Linked DNA regions of Homo sapiens: regions 1, 2, 3, 4, 5 and 6 are each linked to region 7. Evidence: promoter capture Hi-C in 16 types of primary human blood cells and fetal thymus (Javierre and others, 2016). All regions are on one chromosome and are shown on one strand. The core of a region is centred on a gene start or on the middle of the fragment in contact, and the rest is flanking DNA. Distances in the headings are between cores, read along the strand shown.

Evidence for each region. The method cuts DNA at HindIII sites, captures the fragments that hold promoters and counts their contacts. A CHiCAGO score of 5 or more calls a contact.
Region 1: a contact is called between a fragment that was not itself captured here and the fragment with the promoter of SLC2A2 in region 7, in 1 of 17 cell types (M2 macrophages). The highest score is 5.3, in M2 macrophages.
Region 2: a contact is called between the fragment with the promoter of PLD1 here and the fragment with the promoter of SLC2A2 in region 7, in 3 of 17 cell types (activated CD4 T cells, total CD4 T cells and megakaryocytes). The highest score is 8.3, in activated CD4 T cells.
Region 3: a fragment that was not itself captured here is called in contact with the fragment with the promoter of SLC2A2 in region 7 in 5 of 17 cell types (M1 macrophages, M0 macrophages, endothelial precursors and 2 more); the score reaches 8.2 in M1 macrophages.
Region 4: a contact is called between a fragment that was not itself captured here and the fragment with the promoter of SLC2A2 in region 7, in 4 of 17 cell types (fetal thymus, M2 macrophages, endothelial precursors and 1 more). The highest score is 6.9, in fetal thymus.
Region 5: a contact is called between a fragment that was not itself captured here and the fragment with the promoter of SLC2A2 in region 7, in 2 of 17 cell types (M1 macrophages and M0 macrophages). The highest score is 5.6, in M1 macrophages.
Region 6: a fragment that was not itself captured here is called in contact with the fragment with the promoter of SLC2A2 in region 7 in 2 of 17 cell types (non-activated CD4 T cells and fetal thymus); the score reaches 6.3 in non-activated CD4 T cells.

Annotation. Positions count from the first base shown.
Region 1 is chr3:171,658,601-171,662,019 of GRCh38, forward strand. It overlaps PLD1 (phospholipase D1), which reads right to left. Exons shown (of 27, transcript NM_002662.5): 21 at 613-701. Among named protein-coding and RNA genes, the nearest start is that of PLD1, 150 kb to the right of the region's middle. The HindIII fragment of the contact is 171 bases long and covers 1,618-1,788 here.
Region 2 is chr3:171,809,120-171,812,228 of GRCh38, forward strand. It overlaps PLD1 (phospholipase D1), which reads right to left and starts at 1,364. Exons shown (of 27, transcript NM_002662.5): 1 at 1,280-1,364. The HindIII fragment of the contact is 4,859 bases long and covers 1-2,657 here.
Region 3 is chr3:171,586,454-171,589,850 of GRCh38, forward strand. No RefSeq gene overlaps it. Among named protein-coding and RNA genes, the nearest start is that of TNIK, 130 kb to the left of the region's middle. The HindIII fragment of the contact is 3,285 bases long and covers 269-3,397 here.
Region 4 is chr3:171,566,526-171,569,709 of GRCh38, forward strand. No RefSeq gene overlaps it. Among named protein-coding and RNA genes, the nearest start is that of TNIK, 110 kb to the left of the region's middle. The HindIII fragment of the contact is 5,033 bases long and covers 1-3,184 here.
Region 5 is chr3:171,610,768-171,614,150 of GRCh38, forward strand. PLD1 (phospholipase D1) reads right to left here. Exons shown (of 27, transcript NM_002662.5): 25 at 1,512-1,665. Among named protein-coding and RNA genes, the nearest start is that of TNIK, 150 kb to the left of the region's middle. The HindIII fragment of the contact is 154 bases long and covers 1,935-2,088 here.
Region 6 is chr3:171,676,030-171,679,361 of GRCh38, forward strand. It overlaps PLD1 (phospholipase D1), which reads right to left. Exons shown (of 27, transcript NM_002662.5): 17 at 1,537-1,665; 18 at 686-804. Among named protein-coding and RNA genes, the nearest start is that of PLD1, 130 kb to the right of the region's middle. The HindIII fragment of the contact is 624 bases long and covers 1,754-2,377 here.
Region 7 is chr3:171,025,164-171,028,219 of GRCh38, forward strand. SLC2A2 (solute carrier family 2 member 2) reads right to left here and starts at 1,557. Exons shown (of 11, transcript NM_000340.2): 1 at 1,493-1,557. The coding sequence starts at 1,507. The HindIII fragment of the contact is 3,598 bases long and covers 1-2,955 here.

The sequences.
Region 1 (3,419 bases), core at 453-2,952, 630 kb after region 7:
AAATCTATAGAAAAAGAAAAATCAGTGGTAGCCAGAGGCTAAAAATAGAAGGAATGGGTAATGACTGCTAATGGGGTTTCTTTCTGAGTGGATGAAAATGTTCTAAAATTGATTAGGTGGTGGTTGTGCAACTCTGTGAATACACTAAAAATCACTGAATTGTATAGTTTAAGTGGCTGGATTATACAGTATGTAAATTCTATCTCAGCAAACCAATTATTAAAAAAAAAATCCCATGAGCTGAATAAATATGACATACGGTAACAAGAATTTAAATATAACCCATAGCAAAATATTATGTCTGTTTTGCTTTTTTAAGCGAACACAGCTCATAGTCTGCTATTAAATAAAACAAATCACAAACCTCATGTGTGGGAAACAGACTGGCCAGGAAGAAATTTTTGTGCCTTGGAAGAATTCAAATTCCCTAGAAAGGGCAGTCAAAAATCTTTAGCAACTGACTCAGACTAAAGGCATCAATAACCTATTGCTGGCTGAACCAAATTTAAGCTGCTAGGAAATGACAGTACTTTAAAAATGGGCTTTGCAAAGTCATTTTAGTAATAAATACAAGAACATCTGCAGCGAGAACTCTCAGCCAAAGGCTGTTACCTGTGAGCTTTCAGGATCCTCTGGGCAATGGCATCGCCTATCTTGTTGAACACAACTTTGTCATCAGCACAGCTTATGAAAAACTGGTTCTATGAGAAATAAACAAGACAATCATGTTAGTCTTTATTTTCTTAGCAATATACGTAAGAACAATACTGTAATATATTTTTTAAAATGTTTCACACAGCAGATGTGTTCTGATCACTGAAATCACATCAAGAAAGTCAACGACACAGAAAAAAAGCCGCCTCATCTCACTCAGGGTCTCATCTGATTCCAGGTCATATCACCTGTAACACTTAATCAAGTGGAAAGTTACACTATATTATTTCACCATGAGAATTCCTTATAGGTGATTTTCTAAATTACATTCTCAGAATACTTAGGAACACTGCAAATTTAATCAATGGGGAAACTAGTTTTTTTCAGATTCACATGTTGTATAAATGCTTATGATTAAAAATTCTATATTGGCAAACATTCTATCTCATGCTAAGCTTGCTTTTTTAACAGAGTAGATGGTAAAGCCTGGTCTAGTTTTCTCCACCCTTTCTCCATTATTTCCTGGTATCTGCTTTCACCTTGTCTTGTTTGTCTGGGTCTCTTATTATCTCTGAACTTCTATTTTAAGTAGCCTCAACTCTCTTTTGTATGTTGCATATATATAAGCCAGTTAATAAAATAAAAAATGTTTTTTTCCTCTAAGTACTTCTGCTATTTATATATCTACAAAATAGTCTTTAAAACTGTTACTAGAAAACAAGTTACAACATTATCATAACAATGCAAAATATTTTGTTGCTGCATAAAGGAATGTGAAAAATTTGGTGCAAATATTACTAATGTTATGTGTTCAAATAGAATAGATTGTTATAACACATCTGTAATTTATAAGGACAATTATCACAAAGTAATATTTGCTAATCATCTCAAGGTAAAGAGATATATATGTAACAACTCGTAATTATCATCCCTTTGTGGCATTATCATTTTTATGACTATATAAGCTTTTATACTTAAGTGCATAAATCTGTAAAATGCCTCCAGAAGACAAACTTACAGGAAGACACGGTGCAGAAAGTCTTTTGAGAATGTGATTCCCCTTAGGGCATCAGACAATCAAAATCTCATTGGCAACCAAACCATGTTTCTTTTTCTGAATTCATATTATAAAGAAGCTTAGCATGCCTCAGCAGCTGTAAACACAGACTGGCTACATGTCATGTCCTTTACTTCTCCTTTTTTGGAAGAGTCGGATGAATGCTGACTGCTTATCTTGACTAGAGGAGTGTCAACCAGGTCTATGTCCCAACTATGTATACCTACATGGCGTTACTGACATCATTTAATACTACTGTCACATTAAAAAGAAAAGCTGATTATTTTATTTTTTATTTTTTTTATTTTTTTGAGATGGAGTCTCACTTTTGTCACCAAGGCTTGAGTGCAATGGCATGATCTCGGCTCACTGCAACCTTCGCCTCCCAGGTTCAAGTGATTCTCCTGCCTCAGCCTCCCAAGTAGTTGGGATTACAGGTGCCCGCCACCATGCCCGGCTAATTTTTTTGTATTTTTAGTAGAGACGGGGTTTCACCATGTTGGCCAGGCTGGTCTCGAGCTGCTGACCTCAGGTGATCCACCCGCCTTGGCCCCCTCAAAGTGCTGGGATTACAGGCATGAGCCACCGTGCCCGGCCAGAAAAGCTGATGTTAATGCTACTAAAAAGAGATGAAGCAAAATGATTCTGGGCAATAGATGAGCCAGCCTTCACATCTTTCCATCTCTATGGTATAATTGTTTAAATTAATAATACTAATAGCATTACTAAGCTCCAGACTTTATGCAGAGTTCGCTCATTTTCCACTAATGTCCTATATCTATTCCATGATGCCATTCAGGATACCACACTGCATTTAGCCAGCTAATATATTATATTTAACTTAGGTTTCTCTAGCCAGGCTCATGAAACAAATAAAGCTCCAATTCTTCCCTGCTTGTCTCTAATGAATTGTTGCTGTGCAGAGCGGGAGAGGGCCAGGACCCAAGGGGAAGAAAAACAGGGCTAGAATGGTTTTCCTCAGTTAACCCATTCCCCTATCTACCTTTAAAAAATTCAATGGGAAAGAAAAGACTCAAATAAGGAAGGAAATTATGCTATGATTTATTTTTTCCATTATTGTGACTTTTTATTTTCTCAGGGTTTTTCAAGTTCTCTGAACTATTTTTATATTCACTTTGAAGAGTAATTTAAGTTCCCAAACTAAACTCAGTGTCCCCAGATTTTCTCATATGCTCTAAAAATTCTGGGATGAAAAAAAGCTTCCTAATCAATAGTAGTTCACACAGGATTGAAGAAGGTGGTACCTGCTCTTAATGTTCTCACATCTTCCTTTTCCACGTTCTTTTCCCTGCACTCTCCCTACTCCGCCATGCCCAAACCAGTGGCATCCAGTGGTCTCTATTTTAGCAACTCACCCCTGTGTGTGCTCTCCTGAAATAGAACTTGCTTCACACTTAAACCCTCCAACCCAAGCGAAAACAAAACTTACCTATCCATGTTGGGGTATTTCTGTCTAATACTATTACAATGAGTTGATGATGCATTTTAACAGCAAAGATTTGTGAGACTCCCAATAGAATCTTGAGTTAATGACAATGCAGAGCCAGTTCCAGGTATGCTTGGGAGGTCAAAATTCAGGTGATATGAACCAGAGCTTCTCCAGCACTTTTCACGCCTCAAAATATACTTATTAATATGAGGGGTCCTAAGTTTGGGGACCCTGAAATCTCTGCATGATATTTAAGGG
Region 2 (3,109 bases), core at 114-2,613, 780 kb after region 7:
CAGGCAGCACTCCAACTTTTTATATGGATTGTTAACTGTACTGGTTCTTGAGAAGCCAGACTGAGCGCTTATACAATTAGTCCAAAGATCCCCAAACAACATTTAAAGGCTGTCTACAAATTCAAGCTAAAAGACTGTGTACAAATTCATTTGTGTGTCACAAAACATTTAATACTGAAAGAGATTCTTATTCAAATAGGCAGTGTGTAAATGTGGGGTCTGTTAACAGTTCAAATTGCAGATTCCTTTCCTTCTTTAAGTTTTCATTGCACCACCACGAACTAAACCATTTAACATACCTCAGAGGTCTCTGGGTACCTAGTCTCTCAGAGGCCTTTGGAGGCCCACGAAGGCTTATCTTAACTAAAATTGGCAGGGCTGGCTGATAAAGTTAACGGAACTCCCCATTTTGGAGGCAGACTTAGTAATGGTCAAACGAAGAAACTGTTGTGGTCTGTTCTTAAAAAGCTACTAGTATTTAGTGCTTCACAGAGGAAGTAAAGAAAGCAATAATCCGAGATGAGGAGGAGCAAATACAGGCGTGGCGGTAGTTCAGGACTGAGTCTACAAGGGCGGTTCTCAAGGGCGTCACAAAATCCTATGGAAGGCTTGGAGGACGGCACTCCTGGATCTGAGCCCTACGTCCCAAACACCTTCAATCGTATTGTGAGGAAGAAGACCTTTTACACACTCCCTGCTGCTGGCCCCCGGCCCCCTCGCCCCACCTCCGAGTGGTCACATCACACGGCGGGAGCCGCGGTCAGCAGCTGTGATCACACCCCCAGGACCGTGCTCTGCGGGCTGGGCTCGAAGCCTTGGGACGCGGCACTTCCTGGTTGGTACGGGATGCCGGTCCCATCGCCCCCACCAGCCCAGTCATGCCACCGCGCACCCGAACCAAGGGCGCCCGGATGACCTGGGGACACCACACACACTGCACCCGAAGCCCTGTGGCGGCGAGGCGGTGCATCCTGCAGAGGACGCCTGGGCTTCAGCCTGAGCCTGCGCGGCTCTGCGCTCCAGGCAGCCGCCCGCGCGGCAAAAGTGCGTGCCAGAGTTGTCAGCTTTCACCCTGCAGGAATTCCACCCGAAGGCGTGCGAGGGAGGCCCTTGGGGATCGCTAGGGAGTCCGCCGCCGACTCACTCGCTGAAATCCCGTCCAAGTTGGGCGGGGAGCGGCCAGCTGCCCAGGTTGGGCGGAGGAGGGACGGAGGGCGAGGGCAGTGGAAACCCGGCTCCCACGGGCGCCCGGTGATCCGGGTCTCGGCGCGGCTCCTACCTGCAGGGCGAAGGGGCCGCTAGCACCTGCGCGTTGGCGGCGGACTCTCAGGGCTCGGGTGCCTCTGGCACAGCTGGAGCTCAGCGGGAGGGAGGGAGAGAGGGCGGGCCGGAGGGGGCTCTGCGCTGCGCGGCCGGCAGGAACTCTCCGCCCGGATTCGCCCCGGATTCGCAGGGGTGGAGCGAGGCGGTGCCAGGTCCCGGGGCGTCGCGGTGCCGGCTGGAGGCCCCAGCGGGGCAGGTCTCGCGACTGGGCCTCTGATCGCCCGCGTTCCTTGTTCTCTTTTCCCAAAGTTTCATAACTCGACCGCATCACCCTAGGGAATGCTCGCTATTAGGACCATTATCAGGTCCTCTCGAGCCGCCAAGGACCAGCCACCTTTCCCGGAGCTTTGCCTATGATATCTATTCTTCGACTACTGCGGATAGTAGCCACAACTGGTCCAACTTATAAGTAAGGAATCAGCAAATCAAACGGCTAAATAACTTGCCTGAGGTGACATAATTAAGAGACTGGAGCTTTGCTGGAGTCTTTATAAGCCTTCTTGCACCTCCTTAGGGAAGTGTTATCGCCAATTTACAGGTAAGGAAATGAAGGCTCAGAACCAGCCCGAGGTCACACAGCTTAGATGGAGGGGGACGGGAATTTGTGTCCCGATGTCTCTAAAACTGGTTATAATTCAGAAATCTTAGCATAAAATAATAAATTGGGAGCAAAACAGGGAAAAGACCCATTCCACCTATGGAACCGTTCAAACACGGCAATTTTGCTGTTTTCAGTCCACTTAGAATAAAGTCTTAAGAAAAAGAGAACCAGTTGTCATGTGGCTTGAATAGCAGCCCTTTGGGAATGTAATTTTGAATATAGGCCAGTTCCAACCTCATTACACGATATTGCATCCCGCCAAAGCCAGGGGAAGCAATGGCCTCCCCATGCACCAAACTGCTAATAACGTCAGCCACTTTAAAGCATTTAGTGGATATTACACAACTGCGACTGACCAAGTTACATAATGTCTTACTGCACACATGGCATTGCATGAAATGAAAAATATAATATACCAGTCCAAATTAGGGGAGGGGGGCCAAATTATAGTCTGGAACTCAGTTTTCCTGTAACCTACAGTTGCTCAGCCCTCCTTAGACCACATTTTTGTCTCTTGAGCACATCTTTTCCTAATGATAGAAGAGTCACACAGCCCTCACTCTTTCCTTGTTGACATAAATGATTGATGTCTTTTGAATCCTATGATACTGACAGATTTTTACAATTAAACACATGACTCTCTGAGCAGAGTATTGCCTAAGAGGAGTTTAGTAAGTTTCAGACAAGCATGTTACTGGAAGGCAGAATACCCTCTCTCCTCCCCTCTTTCTCAAGCTTTATTAGTCACAGATGGTCTGATAAGTCTTGTGCACACACGTAACTGCATTCTTACAAGCTTGTCTTTAGAAATTATAATGCTTTTGGTTGAGAAGCAGCAGTCTATAAAATTGCATCCCAAATTCTTAAGTGTCACTATGAAAACATTTGGCACTTGCCTCCAACAATAGGTCTTTCTACTAAATCTAATTAGAAATAAAATTATCAAGGCCAAGCGCAGTGGCTCACACCTGTAATCCCAACACTTTGGGAGGCCGAAGCGCGTTGATTACCTGAGGTCAGGAGCTCAAGACCAGTCTGGGCCACATGGCGAAACCCCGGCTCTACTAAAAATACAAAAATTAGCCGGAGGTGGAGGCAGGTTCCTGTAATCGAAGCTATTCGGGAGGCTGAGGCAGGAGGATTATTTGAACCTGGGAGGAGGAGGTTGCTGTGAGTTGAGATTGC
Region 3 (3,397 bases), core at 661-3,160, 560 kb after region 7:
TCCGCAGATATTATCTCTGTTACATTAGTGTTCCCATTCTGCCTTTCCAGTTCTCCAATGACTGTTTAGGCAATGTGCTGTGAAAATAACGAGTATGGTGGTTTCCTTCTTCCCTTTCTTCCTGTTAGGATTCAACCAGAGAAATGTAATTAGTAGGAGATTTATTGCAAGGAATTGGCTTATGTGATTGTGGGGCCTGGCGAGTCTGAAATGGGCTGGGCAAGCCATCAGAAACAACAGGCATTAGGAACTCTCTGGCATGAGCTGAAGCTTCTATCTGAAGGCGGAATTTCTTTTCTTCAGGGCAGCCTCAGTTCTGCTCAGTCTACCTCTGAGTTCCCCCAAAGCTGTGGTAGACATTTCCCATACACAGTGAGAGTTTCTTACATTAAGTGTCAAAGCACCTCTGTTGCTTTCCCTGAGGGCTTTCTCAAGCTACAGGAGTATGTGTTTCACATGATTCTTCTGAAGTGGGATTGAGCCCTGTTGTCCATGGTGGTAGCCTGCCTATTAATGCACTAATGCACTCTCTATTAGCATTTCTCTCATCCTTGACTCACTTTCCCCACTCCCTGACTTGTGCTTTCTGGGGCCACTTCCAAATAAATTACCAGCATCCAAGTCCATTATTCAAGGTCTACTTTTGAAAAAACACTAACTATGATAAGTAAGCATCATTGTCAACTCCATTCTATGTCTTCCTTTATTCCATACCAGCCAAAATGATCTCTTAATTTAATTATATCAAGTTACTCCCCTACTTAAAATCTTTTTGTGATGTCTTAACAATTAGAATAAACTTCAAACTTTTAACTAAGGCTTAAAATACCTACCTGGACTGCCCTGGCCTGGGCCTCCAATGTCATTTCCCATTACGGTCCCCTCACTCACTTTCAGCCACACTGGCCTTCTGCTTGCTCCTCAGTCACACAAGGTCATCCTTTGTGGGGCTCATGGCCTTTGCATCTGCTGTTCTGTCTTACACATTCTCACCCACATTTTTACATGGTGGCCCCTTCTCAACATTCAGACCTGTCCGAAATGCCTCTTCCTCAGAGAGACCCTCCTCCATCACCCTGACTGACATAACATCCTGTCTTCCAGGACTTGCAAACCTATTACTCTCCCTACACCACGAGTATCTTTCTTTTAGGACTTTATACCATCTGAAGTGATCTTTGACTTTAACTGCCTTATTGTCTGTCTCTTTTTACTCCATGGGCAAAAGTTGGTCTGTTTTGTCCACTTTATCCTTAGGGCTCAGAATAGTGCCTGGGATGTTGCAGACCCTTGTGAAAGATGTGGTGAATTAATACATGATTATAAATATGCACATAGCTTAAAAACTTGAGTCTCTTTAGGCAACATCTGTGAGCAGGGATAAGGGATAACAAAAGTGGAGTAAACATTTTTACAAACACTGGAGTTGGGGTTCAAGATACAGAGAGGTCAAGGTTGTTCCTATGCCTATATGGATCATGAAATGATCCTAGTTAAGAGTAAGAACAAAACAGATGAAAAATCTTTGTGGTTTAGGTGGGAGTGACTAAAGGATTGGTAGATGACAAGTAGAGAGAAATGAAATTTAAAATTAGGTCTTTAGATTTTTTTTTTCAAAAAATCCTCCCCCTGTCCTCCTCACACCAAATATTCATTGTGTTGTTGATGCCAATGGCAATTCAGTAATTTTATTGTTAGTTGTAGGTTTCCCTAATCTATTTCAAACATAGAATAGGCCCCACATATATTATGTGCTCAATAAATACTTGTGTAGTGTGATTGTTAATTTTAAGTGTTAGCTTGATTGGGTTAAGGGATGCCCAGATAGCTGGTAAAACATTATTTCTGGGTGTGTCTGCAGGGTGTTGGTGGAAGAGACGAGCATTTGAATCAGTGGACTGAGTAAAGAAGATCCACACTTAACCAATGTGGGGGGCAGACATCATCCAATCCATTGACGGCCTGAATAGAACAAAAGTCAGAGGAAGGCCAAATTCTTGCTCTCTATCCTTGAGCTGGAACATCCAGCTTCTGCTCTCAGACATCCAAGCTCCTGTTTCTCAGGCCTTTGGCCTCAAGCTGAATTATACCACTGGCTTTTCTGGTTCTTCAGCTTGCGGACAGCAGATAGTAGGACTTCTTGTCCTCCATAAACATGTGAGCTAATTTTCATAAGAAATCTCTTATGAGATTATATATATAATATATAATAGTCATGGTTCTCCAGAGAAGCAGAACTAACATCCTAGAAACAACCCATGCAGTAGTCAGGGTTCTCCAGAGAAACAGAAGCCTATGAGAACAGGGTTTAGAGTGATTGTGTAACTTGCCCGAAGATACCAACTAAAATACTGACAGAGCTGAGATTTGACTTCAAGTTCCATTCTCTTAACTGTTAAACAATACTACCTTTGTCTAAAGACTAATTGAGCCAATAGACTTATGTGGAGTTTTTTTTTCAGAGTTGCATTTGTATATGTTTAAAAATTTCTCCAAATACTTTGAAAGTAAGATCTGAAAATCAAACAGATCTTTGGAAATTTTGCAGCTGAAATGGAGAAGGCCAGGAAGCATTTAAACCAGGGCTATGGTTAATGTTATTTGTAGCCTGAGAATGTGACTGAGGGAGAGGGAGCTTACAGGCTGCTTTAGCTGGGCTCACTCTCTCAACCTCGTAGGGAAGTCGTAGTGGGGTCTTACTCAGTGAGAGTGAAGCCTCCGGAAGTTCTGTTCCATTCTCTCTACTCATTATTCAGACCTTGTCTGTGTCATTTAATCTTTCAGTTTGTTGCTCCATAAAATGTGAAAAAAAAAAGTAGCAACTGGTCTGATCTTTCATAAGCAGCTACTCTGAAAGCATACTTGGAAGTGCTTGCAGCTCTTTGGAGGAGGGTGAAGTATTTACTGGTATTATGCCTGCCTTCCGTAGGCTTACCTTGACAATATCTATGATGTGTCCCTAGTGTGCCCTGATGAATAAAGATCCCGAAGTGAAAAATGTAAAGCAATATGGTCTGTGGTGAAAACACCCATCACACATCAGCCCATCCCATCTGAGGTCCAAACTTTTCCTGGCCCTGACTCCTTGCTATCAAGTAGAGGAGATATATTTACCAGAGAAAATTCAGGGTATCTGGGTCCAGTGTATACTATCTGGAATTGCCAAGCCTAAGACAAAAATCCTGAAGTAATCCTGAAGCTATTTCTGGCCTTGGGCACAGGCTTTGTATTATATGAGCATTTAAAATTTCAGAACACTTTCACTTAAGGACTCATGTATTCCTTACCACAAGCCCTCGCCTCAGTTTTCCCAACAGTAAACCAGAAGCATGGCCTGTAATGACTGTTCAAGTAATATCATTATCTTTCATTTCTCCAAATTTCCACTCCTAACTAG
Region 4 (3,184 bases), core at 633-3,132, 540 kb after region 7:
GATTTTTTGTATTTTTAGTAGAGACAGGGTTTTGCGATGTTGCCCAGGCTGCTCTCAAACTCCTGGCCTCAAGTGATCCGCCTGCCTTGGCCTCCCAATATTTGGCTTTCCTTTGATTTTACAAATGGCCTGACAAATCAACTCCCTCATCCCCACTTAAGTACTAAGAGTATTGAAAATGCAATTAAAAAGAAGGGTAAATTTTGATGGAAACTACAGTTTTCATAAAAGTGGAAAGAAATGGATGATGAATGGCTCAACAGGACAAAGAGGAAGCTACACAAAATTAAAAATTAAAAAATTATCAGTATAGCTGGAAGACTGGAACTGAAGTTGGATGTCTGTTATCCTGAGGTTAATTCAGGAGAAGGCTCTGGACTAAAAGACAATTGGACTGAGAACTCCCTTTAGGGATGTCACCTATTAAAGAAAGGTAATTTTGTACAAAGCTGCCGCATTTACCGTGAGGCTGCTCATTTTTAGATTCTAGCACCACCTAGAGGACAGAATGAGATAATTTCCATTCACCACTGAACCTAAGGAATCTTTCATCAATTAACCGTTTTTCAGTTTTCAAAACACTTAAATTTTAATATCTGATTTGATATCCAAATAATTGTCTTTGAGGTAGGAATTTCTACCTTTAGTGTACTGATAAAAAATCAATTTTTCCGCTGGCTTACTGTCCAAAGAATTTGATCAGTTTTTTATGTGATCAAAAATTATTATCCATGGATTATTTTTTAAACTTTATTTAGGTACAGTTTATATACTCTAAAATTAACTAATTTAAAGTGTGCAGTTCAATAGTTTTTGGTGAATTTACTGAGTTGTGCAACCATCCCCATAGTCCAGTTTTAGAACATTTTTATCCCCCCAACAAGATTCTTTTTTTTTTTTTTTTTGAGACAGGGTCTTGCTCTGTCACCCAGGATGGAGTGAAGTGGCATGATCTCGGCTCACTGCAACCTCCACCTCCCGGGTTCAAGCAATTCTCCTGCCTCAGCCTCTTGAGTAGCTAGTATTACAGCTAGTAGCTGGTATTACAGGCACCTGCCACCACGCCTGGCTAATTTTTGTATTTTTCAGTAGAGACAGGGTTTCGCCATGTTGGCCAGGCTGGTCTTGAACTCCTGACCTCAGGCGATCCTCTTGTGTTGGCTTTCCAAAGTGCTGGGATTACACTCATGAACCACTGTGCCAGCCAAGAGTCTCTCTTTTTTACAGTTAATCCCCATTCTCACCCAGCCCCATGAAGTCACCAGAGTTTTTTCTGTCTGCATAGATGTGCTTTTTCTTGGAATTTCATATAAATGGAATAATAAAATGTGTGGGGTTTTTTTGCATCTGGCTTCTTCACTTAGCATAATATTTTTGAGGTTTATCTGAGTTGCAGCATTTATCAGTATTTCATTCGTTTTGATTGCTGAGTAGTACTCCCTTGTATTGATATACCAATTATATTTGTCCATTCACCAGTTGATGAACATTTAGGTTGTTTCCAGTTTTTTGCTATTTTGAAAAATATTGCTATGAATATTTGCATGGAAGTTGTTTTTCTAAGTAAGAAACTTTAATTAGTAAACAGGGAAGTGAATAAAACATGTGGAAGAAGGGTGATTATATGAATTATGTGTATTGAGGAGAAAAAAATAGAATAAACAATCAGGAGATGCCTAAGGGAAAGGCATCTGGGTCCTGGGCCCCGGATTCAATGTGTACCCAGGAACCAAGGAGTTCTTGGTATCGTATTCTTCCAGAGACACAGAAGAAGCATGGGGAAAATTATTCAGGATTTGCTCTGATAGTTTAGCAGTATTTGATGACAGTTTTTAAGGTGTTTCTTAATGTTGGATCAATACAATATGTAGCCGATGCAGACCTTGGTAACACATCTGAGGTTGGAGATTGAAGTACCATTATGATCTCTCCCCATCATGAAGATAGAGGTGAAGGGGACATTTCAAAGTGAAAAATAAACTATGTGGTCAGATGCATTTGAGTCCAAATCCAGGCTCTGTTAATATCTATAAGGACTGCAAGGTCAAAGTTCTCATCAGTATCCCTGGAGGCCATGGTACCTATCTCACAAGGCTGTTGTGAGGATTTGCTAAGATGCTTTATGGAAAGCACTTAGCATATGGCCTGGCACACAGTGAGTTCTGATGTTATTTTTGTAAGATTGGATTGTGCTTGACAAACCCAGGAACAGTGACATTGACTTCTGTTATTCCTGAGAACCTTTTACATCATTTCATTGGATGTTTCTGGCCTGAGATTCTGGCAAAAAGAAGTATAAATTTTCTTCAGAGATGATAAAAATGTTTGTGTAAGTGGAACCTCATTAAAAAATATTGCTTGTCACCCAGAATGTTGTAGGCTGGTGGAAAGATTTAGTGCTAATCTCAAGGGAGTGGTTAGGACTTAGGGGGATCCACACTGGACCAATCAGCATGATAGGTTACTAACTCATTTTGCATATAAAAATGTTGTCTAGGACTCTACAGAATTCTCCCTATTAATGGATGACAGTCAGAGGTCCTTGGGTTTAATCAAAATTTAATACCTTGTGAGAGGAAATATGAAGAATACAAATGATCAGTAATAGACAATATGTCAAATGCAGTAATTGCCAATTTTAAAAAGTCTCCTTGTCAGCATATCTACCTTGATTTGTAGTTAGGAACACATGGCCAGAGCTGTATTAAGCCTCTGGGAAAACAAAGGAATGAGATACATATTCTGTTGCAAGAAAATATATCAGAGATTCAACAAAGCCATCATATCTAAAATAATAAAACAGCATGTTTAAAAATATTTAAATCAGGGAATTTCTCCCCCCCCCCCCCCCCATAAAACTGAAGGCTCCTACTTCATCTGGTGCAGGGCAGATGAATCTTCCATGAACTGCTTTTATATTCACCCAAGCAGTATATTAAGAAGGCTGAAGTCAGAATGAGTTCCAGAAATCTTTCTGTTGAGGAAAACCAGAATCTGAGGAAGGAGCAGTTATTAGATGTGCTTGTTTGTCACCAGAAGAATGCAAACAAAGAAATACAGATGAGTTCAGAGTGCTACAGATATCTTAGAGCAAACCAGATAACTATTGACTTGGTGCTATATACTGTAAGGGAATAGCAACCATGTTAGACATTTTGGTATACTGACTTATTGGCTCCAATTT
Region 5 (3,383 bases), core at 762-3,261, 590 kb after region 7:
AGAAGCTAATTGAATTATCAATGGTTTGAAAATCTTCTTACTGGCAAATCAAGTAGTAACAAAGGCAATAAATACAGCAATAAAAGTTGTTAGAAGGTATTGATAGATTTTGAGGGATGGATTTTTTGAGCTACTTAGACAGAGACAGCAGAATGTCTCTACAACTGAGGCTTATGTTGGTCTTGGAAGCCGAAGTCTGGATTGGTAGGAATGAGCGAAGTGGCCTCTGCCTTTGCCGGGAGTTAAGTGCTCACTAAGCGCCCATCTGCAAGTGAGCCAGTTTCCAAAAGGGACCATTTAACACAAAGAAAACAACAGGCTGCAGCGCAGTGCCCTTCCCGAAAGGGCATAACGCACTGATCTTAACTATATCGGGGCCACCTGCTGCATCCCACTATACAGTCCTCACCAAAATTGCATTATGGCAAATATAGTTCTAGAATCATAAAACTGTGGACTTCCTACAAAGGCCTAGAGTTGGGAGAGTAGTCAGGGTGTTCCACAGCCGGTGGGGAAATGAGTGTCTGCAGGGAGCAAGGGAAACAGTGAAAGGAGACGAGATTATATTACTTGTTCCTTGTGAGATAAGAAGCCATTGGACAGTAGTGAGCAGAGAAGCAACATGATCTAGAAGGTTCTAGAGGGACCACTGTGTTGAGAAAACACAACAGGGGACGTGGACAGTTACAGCGCAGCCCTTGAAAGTTCTAAATAACACTTTATTGAATGGACTTATTTAGGATCGCACAGCTGAAACGAGCCCAGCTTCCTAGCCCAGTATTCTCTCTGCTTCACCACAGATTAGTTTAAAATTTGCATCTTCTTGCCAAAGATCAGGGATCTTCGACACCTGGAGTCATTTTAGACCTGAAAACAGAAGTTTCCACATTTAAATTTTACACCAGCAGTCACTGGCATACCCCTTCAATAATTTTTATTATATCCTTGTATTACTGGAATTAATTTGATTTTAAAAACTTAAATGGAAGCTGGAGGGTTTGACCTGGTCTAGTCCTAATTCAGTTAAGGACTAGTATTTAATTGGCTCACGTCTGTAATCCCAGTGCTTTGAGAGGCCAAGGCAGGAGGATCACTTAAAGCCAGGAGTTTGAGACCAGCCTGGGCAGCACAGCGAGACACGGTATCTACAAAAAATTTTTAAAAATTAGCTGGGTGTGGTGACACGGGCCTGTAGTCCCAGCTACTCGGAATGCTGAGCCAGGAGGATTGCTTGAGCCTAGGAATTCAAGGATGCAATGAGCTGTAACTGCACCACTGCAGTTTTTTCTACTGCACGTGACAGTAATAAAAAGCTATTAAAATAAAAAATATTCATGTACCACCTAAAGTCATTTCGCATACTACTGGTGGTACATATCCTATATTCTGGGACACACTGTTTTAGATGAAGAAGAACCTAGGATGACCCATGTGCTCAGGGCTAGCGGGGCTGGGTCCCAGCGACTGCTGCAGTGGAAATGCATCAGAGAGACACACTTTGGCGGACTGACCTAAAGCACTGTAGCCGAAGTCCTCGGGCAAACCGGCCAGCTTGGTACTCTTTTCCATCCATTACTGAAGGAACAGTCTCTGTATCTTGCACAATGACAGCCATTTCACTGTCACGCTTTCCCAGCATGCTGCGGTCATTTATGTTGGCAGAGCCTGTAAGGAGAAACAGTGAGGCTGAACAACCTTCCTGTTGTGGCAGACACTGTTGGTTGCCCTCCCAACTCAATTCATCCTTGCAAACAAAACCGTAATTTTGTCCAGGTTTTCAAGGGAAGATGTGTTTTTAGGGAGGTGGGGCCCTCCCTAACCCAGGGGTGAATCTTAATCAGTCTAAGCCAGCCATGGTAATTTCATTATTTTTATTAGTGACTGGCTTAGAAATGGGCTCTTGACATGGTGCTAGCCAATGTGACATGAAGGAAAGCTTCTGAGAAAGAGTTTCCCCTTTGTATAAACACACAAAAAATGGATTCTGTCTCTTCCATCCTTTGGATATCTTGGCTTGAAGGGTTGGAAGAAGACATGATTCCAGGAGCTGCTGCAGCCATTTCACAACCACTAGAGAACAAACAAAAAAGCTTAAAGAAAATGCTAAGTAGAAAAAAGAGCCAGGCATGGTGGCTCATGTCTGTAATCCCAGTGCTTTGAGAGGCCAAGGCAGGAGGATCGCTTAAAGCCAGGAGTTTGAGACCAGCCTGGACAACATAGCGAGACCTGGTCTCTACAAAAAGTTTTTAAAAATTAGCTGAGTGTGGTGACGCATGCCTGTAGTCCCAGCTGCTCGGAATGCTGAGGCAGGAGGATCGCCTGAGCCTAGGATTTCAAATTTGCAGTGGGCTGTAACTGCACCACTGCACTTCAGCCTGGGCCAAAGAGCAAGACTTCATCTCTAAACAAAACATAAAAATAACAATTAAAAAAGAAGAAAGATTCTGGGTCTTTAAGTCATTGAATTAGCCAACCTTTGAATATTCTTACCTTCTGTCATGTGAAATAATATATTTTCCTTATTTTCTACATTGTTCCTTATTGTTTCACACACACTTCTAGTTGAGTTTTCTACCTTGTGGCACAAAAGATTCTAACTGTTACAATCATCAAGCACTTGAAAAAAGGCATGCCTACCAGTTCAGTAGGAAAGATGGCTTTGCTTTTGGAGTTAAGAATCAGGCTCTCTGTAGGCTTTAACTCAAAGTCACATAACTGTGAATGTCAAAACTCAAGAGTACCTTCATAATTAATAGAGTATAATCTCAAATACAGATTGTCATTTGTGGCTTTGGGCTTTCTGCTTTCTTGCCTCCCTCACTTGTGTAGCATGCCAATAGCTTCTGTAGCAACTTTCCTCCATTCTATTTTTTAAAATTATTAATTCTCTTTATTAGCTCAATACCTGGTTCATTCAAGGAGTCCATTTTTTTTTTTAAATCCAAGTGAGCTGAGAATGTTGACTTTTACATGTGAAGGGCAAATATTTTGCTATTAGTTCAACCTGTGCTTTCTGCAGTCCTCTGCTGTGTATTCAGGAACCTCATCACGTTTTTTTGCATTAATCTCTGCAGATTCATGCATTTGAATCCTTGAGGTGTCCTGCAAACTACAGAAAGGGCCTGACTGACTCTTCTTGTTCCTCTTGCTCTAGCTGCAACAACTCCACTGCTTCTTCAGACGTGGAGCAGAAGGGTCAGGTTGAACAGGCACCCTGGCGGCCCTCTGACTGGAGCAGCCAGAGCTATAAGGTGACAGCAGCCCTACCAGAGCTCAAATGGTGAGATGAATGAGAAAAGCTGCCCTTTCCTGAAGAGACTTTACTGCCTGTTGCCAGAATATTGTCATGTGGTTAATATATAAATCTATGATGACTATGGATG
Region 6 (3,332 bases), core at 816-3,315, 650 kb after region 7:
CAGGTTTTCACCATGTTGGTCAGGCTGGTCTCGAACTCCTGACCTCAGGTGATCCACCAGCCTAGGCCTCCCAAAGTGCCAGGATTACAGTCGTGGGCCACCGTGCCTGGCCTGAATGATACGTACTTAACTTATGAATGTTAGGTTTGAATGTTATGTCAAGTTCTTACAAGTAATGAGGACACAATCTGGATAAAAGGAAAATGGCCCCACCTTCTTAATACTTCTTGGTTTGCTCAGAACCAGCTCTCAGAATCCTGTACCAATATAAACCCAGTGCAATTCCAGTCCCATCCAACTGGATGGGACTTTAAAGCTCAAGCCCTCTCATCTAAACCAGGCTCCTATCCCCCTATAACAGCCCTGCAAATGACTACCGAGCCCAGGCTACTAAATGCTTAGTCAACACTGTGTCCAAGATGTTAACAAGGTTAAAATCAGGACCCACACAGCAGCACCTGTCCCTAGGCACTCTGAATTGTCTATGGTGTGGACATTCGGGAATGTTTCCCTTTTTTTTTGCCCAGATGCCCAGGCACCCGGACATCAATGCAGCCAACAGCAGAGCAGTGACACAGTTGTGGCCACAACAGTCTCTTCTTGCTACCAGCCTCCTCTAAACCTCTTCTCTAGTTAGGCCTGCCTCTCTTCATGTGGATAAATCATGATAGCAACATCCAAGTACTTTTGTGAAGTTCCAGCGCTGGATGAAGTGACGTGCCACATCACGAGCCGCCTTCCCGTGGACTGCAGAGGCAATGTCATGCCAGGGCATCCGGGGCGTGGAGTACCTGTCAATGAAATCTGCCCGGGTGCACCAGGCAAGGATCAGTCATTAACTTCAGTGTTGGGGCAAAGTCTCTCTGACTCCAACTATGAAACTAAAAGGAAACGTGGGTTAGTGCCCACTAGGTATATATTTCTTGGCTTGCATAGAACAACATTTTTATAATCAAGGGAAACAGATTTCACATTCAGGGACATAGTCTCCCAGGCACTTCCCCACATATGTTTCCGTTTCACTTAGGATTAGATAATCACTAGACATGGCAAGATGTGAGTTGGTACAAATTATCTAAGGCTGTGTATTTGATATTATATTTTTTATTTTTTATCCTGTTGAAACAATGGCAGGCAATGCCATCTCTATCTCCTCTTAAACATATAAACCCAGTGATAACCTGAAAATATGCCATTCTAACGCTGGAAATGCAGGAAATAAGCAGAATAGAAGATGATCAAAGGGAGCCTACCATTTCCTGAAAAATTACTGATTATTGCCCCCAAAATATGCCTATAAAAATCTGGATTTTTCAGACAGTTCAGCTCTATTTCATGTTCTTTTCTTATTATAACTGAAAAAAAAGTCCTTAAGCACATGCTAATGACTAAATCTAGTCTCCAAAGTTTTAAAAAATTTTCAAAAATCAACGGAAGCAAAACAAAAGGCATTTAGATCATGCACATGTATACTTGCTGAGATGTTCAAAGGTAAAAGACAAAATATAACCAGCACCCCACCATTATGATACTCACCAGCAAAAGGTTTATCAAGTTGAACCCAGTCTTTGAAGACGAAATTGCAGTAGTCCTTTCCATGCCAGAATCTGGTTTCCCCATGCAGCTCTCCCACACCTGTCTGTAAACTACGGATGGACCCGGTATCTGTGAATGCAGCAAGACCCCCTCAGAGACTGTGGTTCAGGTGAGTCCCAGAAAGGGAGGCTCAACTCTCATTTATTAAACACCTAAAAGCTTCTTAATTTCTTAAGACACAACTAGGGTGGCATCTGTCCATTCTATTACAGGCTGTGGGCTAACAAGGTTTTACAGTCCTTACAAGTTTACTTTTAGTGGGCAGTTAGGGCTACAACAAGATTCATCATTAAACAATGAAATTTGACCTTCTCAGGCAGTTGAGTAACTTATTTCCACCACCTACCAGATCACTGGAAGAACTATCACAGAATTAACTGTGAATAAAGAACTCACAAGGTGGCACTATGAGAGCAGTAAAGCTGGTGGGGGGCTTTCAGGGGCAGAGTGGGAAGGGCGGGGAGGGGAGAGGTGGAGAAACCTGAGACGCAGGGGCAATAAAGACACCATGCCACTTCTTTTTCCTCAACCAACATGGTGCACACCTGATGCATAATTCTTTTGCATTAAAGCAAGAACCTCAAATTTACAGATAGCCCATGTTCCAGCCCTGGAATTAATTAGCTAAGTGACACTGAGCTTCAGTTTTTTAGATCATAAATCCATTATGCGTAAAATGAAGAATTTGGCCTAGATAACAGCTAAAATCTGTTGCGCTTTAACATTTATATACTTCAAATCATAGATGGCATTTATAAAAAATATGGTAACAACAGATGAAAGCTTATGATATAGGTGCAAAAGCAGCAATCTACTATAGCATTTCACAAATAACTGTGCCGAGACCATTGACTTACGGCTAAATACAAAGACAATGAAGTAAAAAGATGCAGAATTACAAATCACAAACGCAGCACTTGGCACAAAAGAGGCATTTAACAAATAGACACTGAATGCAAAAATATGTGTTGAATGAATAAATGGTACTGCTTGCAGTAGCCAGTGAGAGGACTACACTGGTCCTGCCACCAACACACTGTCCCAGAACTGTCTTTGTAAAATGCACTCTTTGCTTAAAACCCTGGAAGGTTCACATACTGCCTATAGGAAGCTCAAGTCCTAAGGGCTTAGTGTGCATAGAAGACTCTTCCCAAACTGGTGCCAATCTATCTTTCTAGTCCTTGTTTTTCCCCACCCAACCCCAGGCCCCATGCAAATCACGTGTTTCACTGTATTATAACAGGTGTGGACTGCCATGTCTCCATGCAGTTGGCACATTATTACTTCTACCTGAAATGCTCCTTTCTCCCTCTTGGCCTGATATCCTAATCATCCTTCAAGAGCCACATTAGCTATCACCTGCCATCTCCCCATAAGGAAGAGGCAGTCACTAGCACTGCTGTCATCCCACTAACAACTGCCCCAACACCTCTGACTCTGTGACGCAATTGTATCAGGATGCTCCCCTGCCCGCATCAATGCCTCACCAGTCTATAAACTCTTTGGGAGTGGGAACCAAATCTTCTCACTGCCAGTAGCTCCAAGCACCCAGGCAATCAATAAATATTTGCAGAACAAATGTTTTTATGTAATCACCACACACAATGCTAATATTCTATCTCAAACTGAATCATTAACCTTTCAAAGGCTATTAAAGTTTTCTACAGAAGAAAAATGATTTAAAATGCCATAGATTAGCAAAATGAAATCATGTTAAAAATAGACTTCTATTGACT
Region 7 (3,056 bases), core at 307-2,806:
GGCTATAATACTCATGAAATCATGATGTGCTAATTATTCTTTAAATACATACTATATAAATGCTATATAAATAGCATTTTATATTTAACTTTAAATATCAAACATATAAATGGTGCTTATATAATATGTATTTAAAGTGTTTATACATTATAATATAATTTATCTTTTATAATTTATAAATACTATTTAAATATGTATTTAACACTATTAATAATTATATAACTATTAACATTAAAATTGTTGTCTAAGCCTCTCTAATATAATCTCATTTAATTACTCCCTAACTCTAAAGTACTAGTATAATCCCTGAATATCCCATATTATATCACTGAGCCCAAGTTTCTTTGCCTATAAAGGGTATATTGTATCCTAATATGTTTTTGTTTTCTCACAATAGAGAAAACCCAAAGCTCAGTTAAATAACTTAACCCAGGCCTCACAGCAGTTTAGTGGCATTGCTAGAACCCAGATCCAAGTCTGGCTGACTCCAAAGCCAGTGCAGCTAACCATGCCATCTAATGACATGAAGGAATGTTCAGCAGAGTAAGTTGCACCAGATGAGAACTTAAAGGTGAGACCCTACAGGGCACAGATTGATCAACTTATATGATTGTGTGTACAGGGGTGGGTGAGTTTAGAAACCACGTATAAGGGAGCAAGGACACTATATCCTTTATATTTTTAAGTTTTTTTTTAAAGTATCATATCTAGAGAGAAGTTGAAACAGTAGTGAAGTGATCATTCCATAACCTTCGCCTTTATTCACCACTGGTTAACATTCACCAATTTGTTGATCTCTCGCTCTGTAGTGTTTGTGTGTGTGTGTTGTTTTGGCTGAACCATTTACAAATAAGCTGTAGATATTTGTGTCATTTCACCCCTAAATACTTTAGCATGTACAAAGAACAAAGACATCCTCCTACATAATTAGATACCATTATTATATCCAAGAGTGTGAAATTGATACAGTAATATTATTTAAGATGCAGCCCATATTTAAAATTTCCCAACGTCTCCATAGTTCCCTTATTGCTATTTTTTTCTTCCTTCCACAATCTAAATCATTTGTTGCATTTGGTTGTCAGTTTGTCTTAATCCCTTTTAATCTAGAGAACAACCCTTCTACCTCTTTTGTCTCTCCTGCATTGACGTTTTTGAAGATTCCCGATGAGTTTTCATGATTAAATTTAGGTCAATCTGCCCCCTTTTTTTTTTTTTTTTTTTTGGTTAGGAGGGGACATATTTCTTTAGTAATATGGTTATGCACAATTACTTGAAAAAACTTATGCAGACTAGTCAGTTAACAGAGCAAAAATCCTTAAAACCCCAATTACTGAATAAGAAACAGTTCTTCAATTGGCAAAGTAAAGAGAATTAATTTTGATCTGTGGTAGCTACACCCAACCTCCCCCAAATCCTCTGTATGACTTGACTGTATTCCCCTAACTATCTCCTGAAAACCAGACTTGAAATGAATATAATGCTGCTTTACCTTATCTTCTGTCATTGTACTAGTTGGGAGTCCTGTCAATTCCAGGTCTTGTGTGAGTGTGGCACATGCACCTGACTAGCTCCTGCCTGTTTATTCGCAGCTCTGCCTAGGCCTAGTTATGCATTGCAGGAGGAGGAGCAAGGAGAGGGAGGAGTTGGGCTACCCAGACCTGAGAGTCCAAGTCTAATCTTCTCAGCGGCAGCTGAATATTGATGGGAATCTAATCAATAAGTGCTTTGCCTCAGCAACCTGTGGCTTCAATACCTTTGTTCCACTAGGAAAGAAAATGGGAGCAGGTCCCTTAGGCATAAGTTACAAACCAGAGGCAATCACATTTCAAGGCATGTGTTATGTGGCAGTAATTGGGAGCTGGTGAAAAGAGAAATCTTTGGAGTCTTTTGTAGAAGATGAGATATGCTGAGCTGCCGTGCTGTGCTGTGGAGCATGGGAGGCACACTGCACTCTGCTCCACAGATAATTAGTGCTGTGGTGTTTCTGTTTAGAGCTGAGCTGTGTGGCCGGAGACCATTGTTGACTTGAATGGTTACCTGGATGAGCTTTGGATTGTTAGGGACTTGGGTTTGAATCTCAACATTTTACTGGGGAGTATAACCTTAAGCAAGTGGCTCACTGTGACTTTTCTCTGATTAGTTTTTTATTTTTGCCTGATAAAATAGAAATAACACACATTTTGTTTTGTTGAGTGGATTAAATGAGATAATATGTGAAAGTGTTTGGCATATCTCAACATATAATAAGTACTTAGCAAATAGCGGTTGTTATTATTATTGCTTCATATATGTCAAGAAGCACTTGCTGGAGGCTTTAACGTAGAGTTCTCAAATAAACCTGCTCATATGGCTTGATCTTGGGCCTAAGTATCCCTTATGATATCCAAACCCTGTGGGGGTTCAGGAGATATCAAATTTATTGAGCTTTAAGTGTGTGTGGCAACTGGGGCCACAGATTGCACTGAGGCTCAAATGGAACCAGTTCCCAGCGGAACAAAAATGTAACAAGCAGCAACACAATGAGGGGTGTTATGAAGAAACAGGGTGAGAAAATGAAGGATTAGAGGAGATTCAGATTTCACCTTTTTATTTTGCCACCCTGTTTTCATTTCTGTCACCTCTGCAAGGTGACACACCTGAAATGTTTGGTTTGAGAAGGTAATTCAATCAAACTACAAACTTTTACTGAGTCCAGCACAGTTCCATGCTCCGAGATGACTGAGATAAATAAGTCACAGCCTCCTCTTTCTAGGTGTTTATAACATATAAGATGAGACATATGTAATGCAGACACAATACAATAATTTCATAGTGGAAAAGCGTGAGCAAATATTAATAGTAATGATGGTTAATCTTTACTGAGGTCTTGCCGGGTGCCAGGTGCTGCTCTCAGCACTTGACATGGATTAACTCGTTTAGTCATAACATGAGGTGCTCTGTGTCATAGTGCCAAGCTTTGGGGAGCAGCTTTGAAGTCAGACTTTAAAGCGCCCAGTTAGCCACGCTGACTTTCCGCATCAGTTTTGGCTGGTGATGAGCACGCCCCATTGCCA